3 separate regions of the Homo sapiens genome follow, and all the other regions are linked to region 1. Evidence: promoter capture Hi-C in human tissues and cell types (Jung and others, 2019). All regions are on one chromosome and are shown on one strand. Each heading gives the region's core, a stretch centred on a gene start or on the middle of the fragment in contact. The rest is flanking DNA. Distances are from core to core; before and after follow the strand shown. Region 1 holds the start of MEI1 (meiotic double-stranded break formation protein 1). Region 2 overlaps MEI1 (meiotic double-stranded break formation protein 1). Region 3 overlaps MEI1 (meiotic double-stranded break formation protein 1).

Evidence for each region. The method cuts DNA at HindIII sites, captures the fragments that hold promoters and counts their contacts. A contact is called where the count stands out against the background at its distance.
Region 2: a contact is called between a fragment that was not itself captured here and the fragment with the promoter of MEI1 in region 1, in 8 of the 25 tissues and cell types used here (H1 embryonic stem cells, dorsolateral prefrontal cortex, liver and 5 more).
Region 3: a fragment that was not itself captured here is called in contact with the fragment with the promoter of MEI1 in region 1 in 2 of the 25 tissues and cell types used here (mesenchymal stem cells and spleen).

The regions. Positions count from the first base shown.
Region 1 is chr22:41,697,692-41,701,573 of GRCh38, forward strand. MEI1 (meiotic double-stranded break formation protein 1) reads left to right here and starts at 1,812. Exons shown (of 31, transcript NM_152513.4): 1 at 1,812-2,021. The coding sequence starts at 1,848. It also overlaps the pseudogene C22orf46P. RefSeq lists a silencer at 1,785-1,884. The HindIII fragment of the contact is 9,130 bases long and covers 700-3,882 here.
Region 2 is chr22:41,786,793-41,790,674 of GRCh38, forward strand. The region is part of intron 26 of MEI1 (meiotic double-stranded break formation protein 1); the gene reads left to right. Among named protein-coding and RNA genes, the nearest start is that of CCDC134, 12 kb to the right of the region's middle. The HindIII fragment of the contact is 8,169 bases long and covers 1-3,882 here.
Region 3 is chr22:41,768,335-41,772,216 of GRCh38, forward strand. MEI1 (meiotic double-stranded break formation protein 1) reads left to right here. Exons shown (of 31, transcript NM_152513.4): 20 at 2,352-2,627. Among named protein-coding and RNA genes, the nearest start is that of CCDC134, 30 kb to the right of the region's middle. The HindIII fragment of the contact is 6,757 bases long and covers 1-3,882 here.

The DNA of each region.
Region 1 (3,882 bases), core at 562-3,061:
TGGCAAAGCTGGGCCTGACCCTTCTGGCCAAGATGTCCTGGTCCCCACAGCTCGCCAAGCGCAAGCACTTGGCCCCTAACCTGAGCCTGAGGGAACCTGATTCTACTCTGCCTCCCAAAGTGGGTGATCCTCGTGCAGGGGAGGACAGCATCGGAGATCACACTGCTTCACAGAGGGATCTTCAGCTGCAAGGTCACTGCTGTACTGGGGCCACCCTTCCTAAGACAGAGAGTCCCCAGGGCCAGGAGGCACCTGGGAACCCAAATGGGGCTCCACAGAATACACGAGCCTCCAAAAAGTTTAGTATTATGAAGCATCTGAATTTTTTTCTCTTCCAGAATGGCTTTAAAAAGTAGACTCAGGCCCAGAGTCCTCAGGACATATCAGAAAAGCTTTGAGAGTGTCCTGATCCCTGCAAAGCCTCTAATAAATTGGTCATTTGGGCCCTGTGGTGTTCTGATTTCTCTGGCACATTTTCCAAGTGCCCCCTTTCGGGGTTTGGGATACTTTGTGGGTGGGGTAGAAGCCCCTTCCACTCTGTGGTTGTGGTTTAGGGAATGTGGGTCAACCCAGTGTCCTCTCCGAAACACCTGCCCCCCAGCTCCTCACAGTGGAGTCCACTGAGGTTCTATCCTGCTCTGTCTCCAAGCTAATCCTGATTGAGGCAGGACACTCCAAAAGCCTCAGCTGCTTATGGGGAGGGGTGGTCCTCTGCATGGGACGCTTTTTTTTTTTTTTTTGAGATGGAGTGTAGGTCTGTGGCCCAAGCTGGAGTTCAGTGGCTTGATCTCCGCTCACTGTAACCTCCGCCTCCTGGGTTCAAGCGATTCTGCTGCCTCAGCCTCCCGAGTAGCTGGGATTACAGTCATGAGCCACCACACCCAGCTAATTTTTGTATTTTTAGTAGAGGAGGGGTTTCGCCCTGTTGCTCAGGCTGGTCTTGAACTTCTTTCTCTCTGTCTTTGGTGTTTTGTTTTGTTTTTTTACTTTTATTTTTTGGTCTTAAGCTTCTGATTTATTTATTTATTTTTAAGATGGAGTCTTCCTCTGTCACCCAGGCTGGAGTGCAGTGGTGCGATCTTGGCTCACTGCAACCTCCACCTCCCAGGTTCAAGTGATTCTCCTGCCTCAGCCTCCCTCCCAAAGTGCTGTGATTACAGGCATGAGCCAACTCACCCAGCCTCTAATTGCTTTTAGATGCGAATCCTTGGGATCGCTTATTTTCCTTTTTTTTTTTTTTTTTGAGATAGAGTCTTGCTCTGTCGCCAGGCTGGAGTGCAGTGGCACAATCTCAGCTCACTGCAACCTCCGCCTCCCAGGTTCAAGTGATTCCCCTGCCTCAAGCCTCCCAAGTAGCTGGGATTACAGGCACTTGCCACCACACCCAGCTAATTTTTTGTATTTTAGTAGAGACGGGGTTTCACCATGTTGGGTAAGATGGTCTTGATCTCCAGATCTCGTGATCCGCCCACCTCGGCTTCCCAAAGTGCTGGGATTACAGGCGTGAGCCACCATGCCCGGCCTTCATTTTTAAAAAACAGTAGAAATAGCTTCCTTTCCTTCCTTTTTCAAGGCAAATGCCCCCTACTTTATAATTGCTTTTCAACTTTGGATGTGGTAAAGACATTCCTGCAGGGTTCTAAGCACAAACCGCTTTTGGCTTAGCTAGACACGATCCAGAGCACTTGCGTCCACCACTTGCCCTCAGTGGCTGCTGCTCGTCTGAGACTGCAGCGCCCTGGGTCCGCGCAGGCGCATTCCACACCGACGCAGGTCCGTCCTCCAAGTGCGCATGCGTGCAGTCTGCGCGGGAAAGAGTGCCGCCTCAGCTGAGGGCAAGCGAGGAGATGGCTGTGAGGCAGGCGGCGACGGCGGGCACTCCCGGGCCCAGGAGAGAGGAAGAGGCGGCGCTTCTATTCGAGAGGGCCCATTACCGGCACGACCCGCGCTGGCTGCTGCCCGTGACCCCCCGCCTGTGCCTGGCCTGCGCGCTGGAGCTGCTGCCGGACCCCGGCGTGTCGGTGCGGGCGGAACCTTTTCTTCAGAAGACCTGGGTTTGGCCATTTCCCTCAGCAAACGCGGCCAGGCCCTTGCCAGACCCGCTCCGGTGAACCCGACGCGAAACCGGGCCCCCGCGCTGTGTTCACTCTCCTCCCTGTCAGCCCGTCCCGGACCCGGCCGCAGCGGCCTCTCGGGCCCCTCAGCCCCAGGCCGGCCTGCGGGCCTCCGTGGAGCCCGGTCCACTGGCTCTGCGCCTGAAAGGACGGAAATCCGGATCCCCCGGGACCTCACCCAGTCTCAGGGACACACCTTCCCGCCTTCCGCCTTCTGGCTCCTTCCCTTTGCTGCCCCTGCCTCCATTTCCCGGGGATTCGGCCTTAGCTCAGGCTCCCGCCATTTCAGCCTCCCGCCATTTCAGCCTCCACTCACCTGCGGGCCAGGGGCGCATGCGGCGGCCGCTCCTCATTCCCTTCAGCTGTCGGGGTGTGAATCGGAGGAGGGGCAGTCTGGGCTCCGAGGGGACAGGAGTGACAGGTTACAGCCGGGCAGAAGTGGGGGTGAACGGGAAGACTGTTCCTTGGGCAGAGCTGGCCAAAGCGGGCTGCCTGGGTCCTCATTGCCTACCGCGTTTGCAATGAAGTGGTTTTGTTTGTTTCGAGACGGAGTCTCGCTCTGACACCCAGGCCGGAGTGCAATGGCGCCATCTCCGCTCACTGCAACCTCTGTTTCCTGGGTTCAAGCGATTCTCCTGCCTCAACCTACCCAGTAGCTGGGATTACAGGCTCCCGCCACCACGCTCGGCTAATTTCTCTATTTTTAGTAGAGACGGAGTTTCATCATGTTGGCCAGGCTGGTCTCGAACTCTTGACCTCAGGTGATCCACCCGCCTCGGCTTCCCATAGTGCTGGGATTATAGGCGTGAGCCACGGTGCCCGACCTGCAGTGAGTTTTCTTGTCCATGGAGGCATCCAAGAAGACTTTGGGAGGTCAAGTTTCTCTCCAATTCATGGGAGGGGAATTCGTGAGTGGGTGGATTGGCTAGATCAGCAGTTCTCAATTTTTTTTTTTTTTTTTTTTTTTTTTGTAGAAACGGTCCCGGGGGTCTCCCTGTGTTGCCCAGGCTGGTCTTGAACTCCTAGTCTCAAGCAATTCTCCTGCCTTGACCTCCCAAAGTCCAAAGTGTTGGGATTGCATCTGTGAGCCACCGTGCCTGGCTGCGTTCTCAAATATTTTGATTTCTTTCTTTCTTTTTTTTTTTTTTTTTGAGATGGAGTTTCACTCTTGTTGCCCAGGCTGGAGTGCAATGGCGCAATCTCAGCTCACCGCAACCTCCGCCTCCCGGGTTCAAGCGATTCTCCTGCCTCAGCCTTCCGAGTAGCTGGGATTACATGCATGCGTCACTACGCCCAGCTAATTTTGTATTTTTAGTATAGACGGGGTTTCTCCATGTTGGTCAGGTTGGTGTTGAACTCCCAACCTCAGGTGATCTGCCTGCCTCAGCCTCCCAAAGTGTTGGGATTAAAGACGTGAGCCACCACACCCGGCCAAACAGCTGGATTTTTATCTATTTCTGCATTCAGTCTGTTGTGCTATCATGTCATATAGTCTCAAAAACTCCACTGTACACTTGTGGGAGAATAAGAATGAGAAAGACTGGGCCGGGTCCGGTGGCTCACACCTGTAATCCCAGCACTTTGGGAGGCCGAGGTGGTTGGATCACGAGGCCAGAAGTTCAAGACCAGCCTGGCCAACATGGAAAAAATTTAAAAAAAAATGAGGAAGACTAAGAACATTTTAATATTATATGAAAATATTTTTGTTCTTGTGGACCTCTGGGAAGTGTTTTAGGCACCCTTAGGAATTCCCACACTGTGCTCTGGG
Region 2 (3,882 bases), core at 593-3,092, 89 kb after region 1:
GGAGGGGATCCAGAGCAAGCAAAAGCATGTCTACCTCCAAGGGGTTTGTGTTTTATGGCTTAGGAGACACTTGTAGATCAGTGTTTATGTAGCCATCATATCCCGAGCCCTGACCCAATGTCATGGCCTATGAAGGATACTGGGGGCCCCAGGAAGATGTCCCAGGAGTGGGCCCTATGCTGAGTTAGCGGTTGTTGAGTCTTGTCCTGTGGCACATCCTTGCACAAGGCTCTGTGCTCTTTAGGGATCAAACATCTATCCTATTATAGCACTTAGCTCTCTGTTTCAAGTTTCCATTTTCATATCACTATTCCCCCAACCAGGCTGTGATATACTCAAGGGCAGAGTCTGGGTCTGGTTAATCTTTGTGTGTCCTTCCCCTTGTGGGTTTAAAGCTAATTTAGAATGCAGGAATCAGATGAGAACCAAAACATAAGCTTTATTGCTGGTAAACATCATAGTAGAATATTGGCTGGGACTCTGGAACAGAATGGGCTTTTTTTTTCCTGCAGTTTTTCAAACATACAGCAATGAGAGAGTTTTACAGTGAACATTCATACACCCAACACCTAGATTCTACTAATAACATTTTATTATACTTGCTTAATCATATCTGTCCAAAATGAGCTTTTTAAAACACCCTCCTTCTTGCCAGACCAGGGGTCCACAGGCGGGAAAAACTGTGTTTGCATTATGGACACTTAGCCAGCTGGCCAGGATCTTAAGAGTTTAAGTTCATGGGAGCATAATCTTTAATACCTTAATCCTGCCCTGATGGCACAGTAGATCTTAAGCTAGTATCTTGCCTGCTAGATAAAACCTTCCTTGGGTGAGGAGGGCCAGTTAGGGAAATGCTTTCTCCCTAATGTTTCTAAAAGCGCTGATGTTCCTGTTTTAAGATTCAGAACAGGAGGTGTGGGGGGAATGATTTCCCAATACCCAGCACAGAGCTTGGCACAAAGTTGGCATCTGGGAATGTTTGTTGAATGGATGAAAACCACAGAAATTAACATTACATGATCCCAGCCATTTAGGCACTCACAGATTATAGGAAACACAAATAACTACATCTAATACCAAAATGACCTATTAGCAGTTGAGCATTCCTAATACAAAAGTCCAAAATCCGAAATGCCCAATGAGCATCTGCTTTGAGCATCATGTTGGTGCTCAAAAGTTTTGGATATGGGGATATTTCAGATTTCAAATTTTTAATTACAGATACTCAACCAGTATTTGTTTTTTTGTTTGTTTTTGAGATGGAGTCTCGCTCTGTCACCCAGGCTGGAGTGCAGTGGTGCAATCCCAGCTCACTGCAACCTCTGCCTCCTGAGTTAAGTGATTCTCCTGCCTCAGCCTCCCAAGTACCTGGGACTACAGGTACGCACCACAATGCCTGGCTAATTTTGTATTTTTAGTAGACATGAGGTTTCACCATGTTGGCCAGGCTGGTCTCGAACTCGTGACCTCAAGTGATCCACCTGCCTCGGCATCCCAAAGTGCTGGGATTACAGGCGTGCCCAGCCTCAACCTGTATTGGAAGGCTGCACAGGAGAGGTAGCATTTGAACTGGGCCTTGAGTGATGAAAAAGCCTTCTTCAAACCAATAGCCTAAACACTAGGGTGGGGTGCCAGTGAGGTTTGTGGGTTTTGTTTTGTTTTTTTTGAGACATAGTCTTGCTCTGTCACCCAGGCTGCAGTGCAGTGGTATGATCCCAGCTCACTGCAACCTCCACCTCCTGGGTTTAAGCGATTCTTCTGCCTCAGCTTCCTGAGTAGTTGGGATTACAGGTGTGTGCCACCATGCCTGGCTAATTTTTGTATTTTTAGTAGAGACAGGGTTTCACCATGTTGGCCAGGCTGGTCTCAAACTCCCAACCTTAGGTGATCTGCCCACCTCGGCCTCCCAAAGTGCTGGGATTACAGGTGTGAGCCAACGTGCCCAGCCACCAGTGAAGTATTGTATAGCACTTTCACCATTCGCCTCTCATGCCCAAGAGCCTAGGTGTCTCCCTGGCCTGTGACATTCAACTCTGCCTCTGGCAACTGTTTATTTTTATTTTTGAGATAGGGTCTTGCTGTCGCCCAAGCTAGAGTACAGTGGCATGATCATGGCTCACTGCCACCTTAACCTGCTGAGCTTAAGTGATCCTCCCATCTCAACCTCCTGAATAGCTGGGACTACGGGTATACACCACCATGCCCAGCTAATTTTAAAATACTTTTGTATTGGTAGTAAGGCCAGGCGCAGTGGCTCATGCCTGTAATCTCAGCACTTTGGGAGCCAAGACGGGCGGATCACTTGTCAGGAATTTGAGGCCAGCCTGGCCAACAGGGTGAAACCTCATCTCTACTAAAAATACAAAAAAATTAGCCGGGCGTGGTGGCGCGCACCTGTAATCCCAGCTACTTGGGAGGCCAAGGCAGGAGAATCACTTGAACCCGGGAGGTGGAGGTTGCAGTGAGCCAAGATCATGCCAGTGCACTCCAGCCTGGGTGACAGAGCAAGACTCCATCTCAAAAAATAAATAAATAAAAAATAAAATACTTTCGTAGAGATGATATCTCACTATGTTGTCCAGGCTGGTCTTGACCTCCTGGGCTCAAGCAATCCTCTGGCTTTGGCCTCACAAAGTGCTAGGATTACAGGTGTGAGTCACTGCACCTGGCCTTGTTTTAATTGTAGTAAACTATATATAACATACAATTTAGTATTTTAATCATTTTAAGTATATGGGTCAGTGGCATTAAGTACATTCACATTGTTGTGCAACTTTCACCATCATCCATCTCTAGATCTTTTCATCTTCCCAAACTGAAACTCTGTACCCATTAAACAATTCCCCAGTCCCCTCCCCCAGCCCCTGGCATCTACCATTTTACTTGCTATCTCTATGAATTTGACTACTGTAGGGACCTCATGTAAGTGGAATCCTGTATTTGTCTCTCTGGTAGTTTTTGACTGTCTGTCCTCAACAGTCCCTGGGAAGGGGAACCCAACCTGAGAAGCTCATGACTCCCCCTGTAGAAGGTGCTGGGCCTACCCTGCTTATGGGAGGGTATTGCTGAGGAGCCTGTCTTAGCCTCACAGTGACTGCCCTATAATTGCCTAGTGAACAGGACCAAGTAGGCTTTTCCTCTTTTCTCTCACTGTCACACTCTCGAGAAATTTCCTGGCCTTCTTTGTTCAGCCACAATGTCCCCTCTGTCACTGCCCAGGACCTCATGGCTATAGCTAAGCCTCCTTCATTCCCTTCAACCAGTTTGTTGTTTAAAACTAGTTTGTTTGTTTTTTTGTTTTGTTTTTTGAGACAGACTCTCATTCTGTTGTCCAGGCTGGAGTGCAGTGGCGTGATCTTGGCTCACTGCAACCTCTGCCTTCCAGTTGCAAGAGATTCTCGTGCCTCAGCCTACCAAGTAGCTGGGATTACAGGCACTTGCCACCATACCTGGCTAATTTTTTGTATGTTTAGTAGAGACAGGGTTTCGCCATGTTGGCCAGGTTGGTCTCAAAACTCCTGGCCTCAAGTGATCTGCCTGCCTTGGCATCCCAAAGTTCTGGGATTACAGGTGTGAGCCACCGCACCCGGTCTTAAAACTCGCTTTTTATTCATTTCTTCATTCATTTGTTCAATGATTCATACATTCAGCAAATATTTATTCCACAGTAACCCAGCAATAGAGGAAATCCCTCTCCCTTGAGCTCCCAGAATGGTTCATTCAGCTGTGAATTGAGTATCACATTATCATATTTTATTATATGATAGTGGTTTACATTATCTTCTTCCACTGAACTTCTTTTTTTCTTTTTTTTTTCTGAGACAGAGTCTCACTCTGTCACCCAGGCTGGAGTGCAATGGCGCGATCTCGGCTCACTTACAA
Region 3 (3,882 bases), core at 586-3,085, 71 kb after region 1:
GCTGAGATTGCGCCACTGCATTCCAGTCTGGGTGACATAGTGAGACCCTGTCTCCCAAAAAAAAAAAAAAAATGAAATTAAGGGAACAATTCCATTTACAATAGCATCAAGAAATTAAATACTTGGGAATATAACTTAACAAAGTATAAGGACTTTGTGTTAGTCAGTTCTCGCATTCTTATAAAGAACTACCAGAGACTGAGTAATTTATAAAGACAAGAGATTTATGTGACTCACAGTTTCACAGGCTATACAGGAAGCATGGCTGAGGAGGTCTCAGGAATCTTACAGTCATGGCAGAAAGCAAAGGGGAAGCTGGCATATCTTATATGGCTGGAGAAGGAGGAAGAGAGTGAAAAGGGAGGTGCTACAAACTTTAAAACAACCAGAGCTCATGAGAATTCACTCAGTATCACAAGAACAGCAACGGGGAGGTCCACCCCCATGATCCAGTCACCTCCCACCAGGCTCCTCCTCCAACACTGAGGATTATAATTTGGACATGAGATTTGGGCGGGGACACAAATCCAAATCATATCAACTTATATAGTGAAAATTTCAAAACATTACTGTTTTTCTCTAGTTTTTTTCTTAATTAAAAATCTAAATTAACAGACTGCATTCATGAATTGGAAGACTTAATAGTTTAAGATGGCAGTGCTCTCCAAATTGATCGGTAGATTCAATGCAATCTGTATCAAAATCCCAATTGTACTTTTTTGCAAAAATGAATAAGCTGAACCTAAAATTCATATGGAAATGCAAAATAGTCAAAACAATCTTGAAAAAAAAGAACAAAGTTGGAAGACTCATACCTTTTTTATTTTGGAACTTAGCAAAAAACTATAGTAATCAGGATAGTGTGGTACTGACATAGGAGTAGACATATAGATCAATGAAATAGAATTGAGAGTCCAGAAGTAAACCCATACATTTATGGTCAATTTTTGATGAGGATGCCAAGATAATTCAATGGGGGAAGATTTGTCTTTTCAGAAAATTTTCAGGAACAACTAGATATACACATGCAAAAGAATGAAGTTGGACTCTTAACTCATATCATACACAAAAATGAACTCACAATGAGTGAAAGACCTAAATGAGCCAAAACTGTAAAACCCATATAATAGCATATTAAGGAATTTTTTTTTTTTTGAGATGGAGTTTCACTCTTGTTACCCAGGCTAGAGTGCAATGGCGTGATCTTGGCTCACCACAACCTCTGCCTCCCGGGTTCAAGTGAGTCTCCTGCCTCAGCCTCCCAAGTAGCTGGGATTACAGGCATGTGCCATTATGCCCGGCAAATTTTTTATTTTTAGTAGAGACGGAGTTTCTCCATGTTGGCCAGGCTGGTCTCAAACTCCCGACCTCAGGTGATCCGCCCACCTCAGCCTCCCAAAGTGCTGGGATTACAGGCATGAGCCCCCACGCCCAGCCTCATACTAAGAAATTTGAACATTGTTATGGGAATGCAATGGGAAGAGGTAGGTTTGTGAGGAGTAAGAAATTATTCAACAAGGCCGGGCACGGTGGCTCACACCTGTAATCCCAGCACTTTAGGAGGCCAAGGCGGGCAGATCACCTGAGGTCAGGGGTTTGAAACCAGCCTGACCAACATGGAGGAACTCCGTCTCTACTAAAAATACAAAATTAGCCGGGCATGGTGGCACATGCCTGTAATCCCAGCTACTCAGGAGGCTGAGGCAGGAGAATCACTTGAACCCGGGAGGCAGAGGTTGCGGTGAGCCGAGATCATGCCATTGCACTCCAGCCTGGGCAACAGGAGCGAAACTCTGTCTCAGAAAAAAAAAAAGAAATTATTCAACATATCTCCCCTTCACCCCTTCTGTGCCAGGCCCTATGCTAAGTGCACAGATTAATCTGCCACAGTCCCTACCCTCAAGCAGCTTTCAGTCTAGTGTGGGAAGTAGACATGCACACTGACAATTACAACCCACTGTGGTACCATCATCAAGCTGGGTTTCTTGACCTCGGCACTATTAATATTTTGCACCAGATCATTCTTGTGTGATAAGCTTTGTAGGATATTTAGCAGCATCCCCACTCTCTCCCTACTAGATCCCAATAGCATTCCCCCAATCAAGATAGTAAAAAATGTCTCCAGACTTTACCAAATGTCCCATGGGGACAAAATCACCCCTAGTTGATAACTTCTGTTATAAGGTAAGTACAGTGGTATTTTCTCACTAAAGTGCCTTGGGATGAGCTAGCCAAGGTGTCCTGGAATACTGAGATGACAGTACATTTTTCCTAGTCATCTCTTGGCCATGTTGGGGTCTCTTGGGTCCTCTGCAAGGTGTATTTACCTCCTTTCTTTGTTTTGCCTCCAGACTATGGTCAGTGCAATCAGAAAATTCCTAGAAGGCATCCCAGACCTGCAGCTAGTCTATACTCACCATCCGCTCCTGCTCAGGTTCTTTCTGTTGTATCCAGAGCTCATGAGTAGGTATGGGCACCGTGTCCTGGAACTTTGGTTCTTCTGGGAAGAGAGCAGCTATGAGGAACTGGATGATGTCACCTCTGCTGGGCAGCCCGCCCTTCCTGCCAGCTTAGTAGTCCTGTTCCAGTTGCTCAGAAGCATCCCCAGCATCCTGCTCATCTTGCTGGTAGGCAACCACTCATTCATTTCTACATTCAGAAATCGTGGGCCTTCTCTCTCTGAGAGCCGGTTTACTGAGGTCAGGAGGCACCCACATCTGCTTCAGCCCACCTCCAGACTTATCACTGTCTGCATGTGAGTTGGAGGGGTGGTGGTCTCTTCTACTTGTAGGTGCCTAGTTTCTGTAAATCCATACTCTTTCCTAAGTCTAATGGAAGTCTACCAACTGAGAGATGTGTGCCTCTCTTCCCCCCAGGGGATGACACTATGAAATGCAGATCTTAGTCACCATCCCCTCTCACCTCCCTGTCATCTCTCAAGCAGATTCTGCTGACACAGGTTTAATGTTAAAGGAAGCCCATGGGGCATGTAGATGGACATTTCTGATGGCAGAGGGACTCCTCCTCTTTTTTGCCATGACTTACATGATAATATTATATGTACATTACTTGCTCAGGCATACCTAGAATTGTCAGATGCCCCAGTACTTTTTTTTCTGGAGACACAGTCTCACACTGTTGCCCAGGGTGCAGTGCCGTGGCATGATCTGGGCTCACTGCAACCTCCACCTCCCGGGTTCACGCAATTCTCCTGCCTCAGCCTCCCGAGTAGCTGGGACTACAGGTGCACGCCACCACACCCAACTAATTTTTTACTTTTTTTTTTAAGAGATGGGGTTTCACCAGGTTGCCCAGGCTGTCAATACTTTTTGGTGAAGTACGTTACTGAAATTCCCATCAGGAATTAGATGGGCTAATTAGATTAGATAAGGTAAACTGCCTAGTGGCTGGCTTTAACTCCACTTTTTTTCCTTCCACTCAAGAAGGCAAATTGAACAACAAATTAGATACCAAGGAGAGTAGCAGGGGACAGAACTAAGATACTAGGTTTTCTTCACCAGATGAAATATTCGGGGTCAGTTCTTCACACATAGTAGGTACTTATAAATTATGACCCATTGAATTATGGGTCTAGACCAATCTAAGTCTGTCCAGGGATAGTAGTGACAATACAGTCATGCATTGCTTAATGATGGGGATACATTTTTAGAAACACAGTGTTAGGTGATTTTGTCATACCAACATCATGGAGTATACTTACAGACATCTAGATGGTCTAGCCTACTACACACCTAGGTATATGGGATGACCTGTTACTCCTAGGCTACAAACCTGTACAGCATGTTACTGTACTGAATATTGTAGACAAATGTAACACAGTGACATTTGTATATCTAAACATAGAAAAGATACAGCATGACT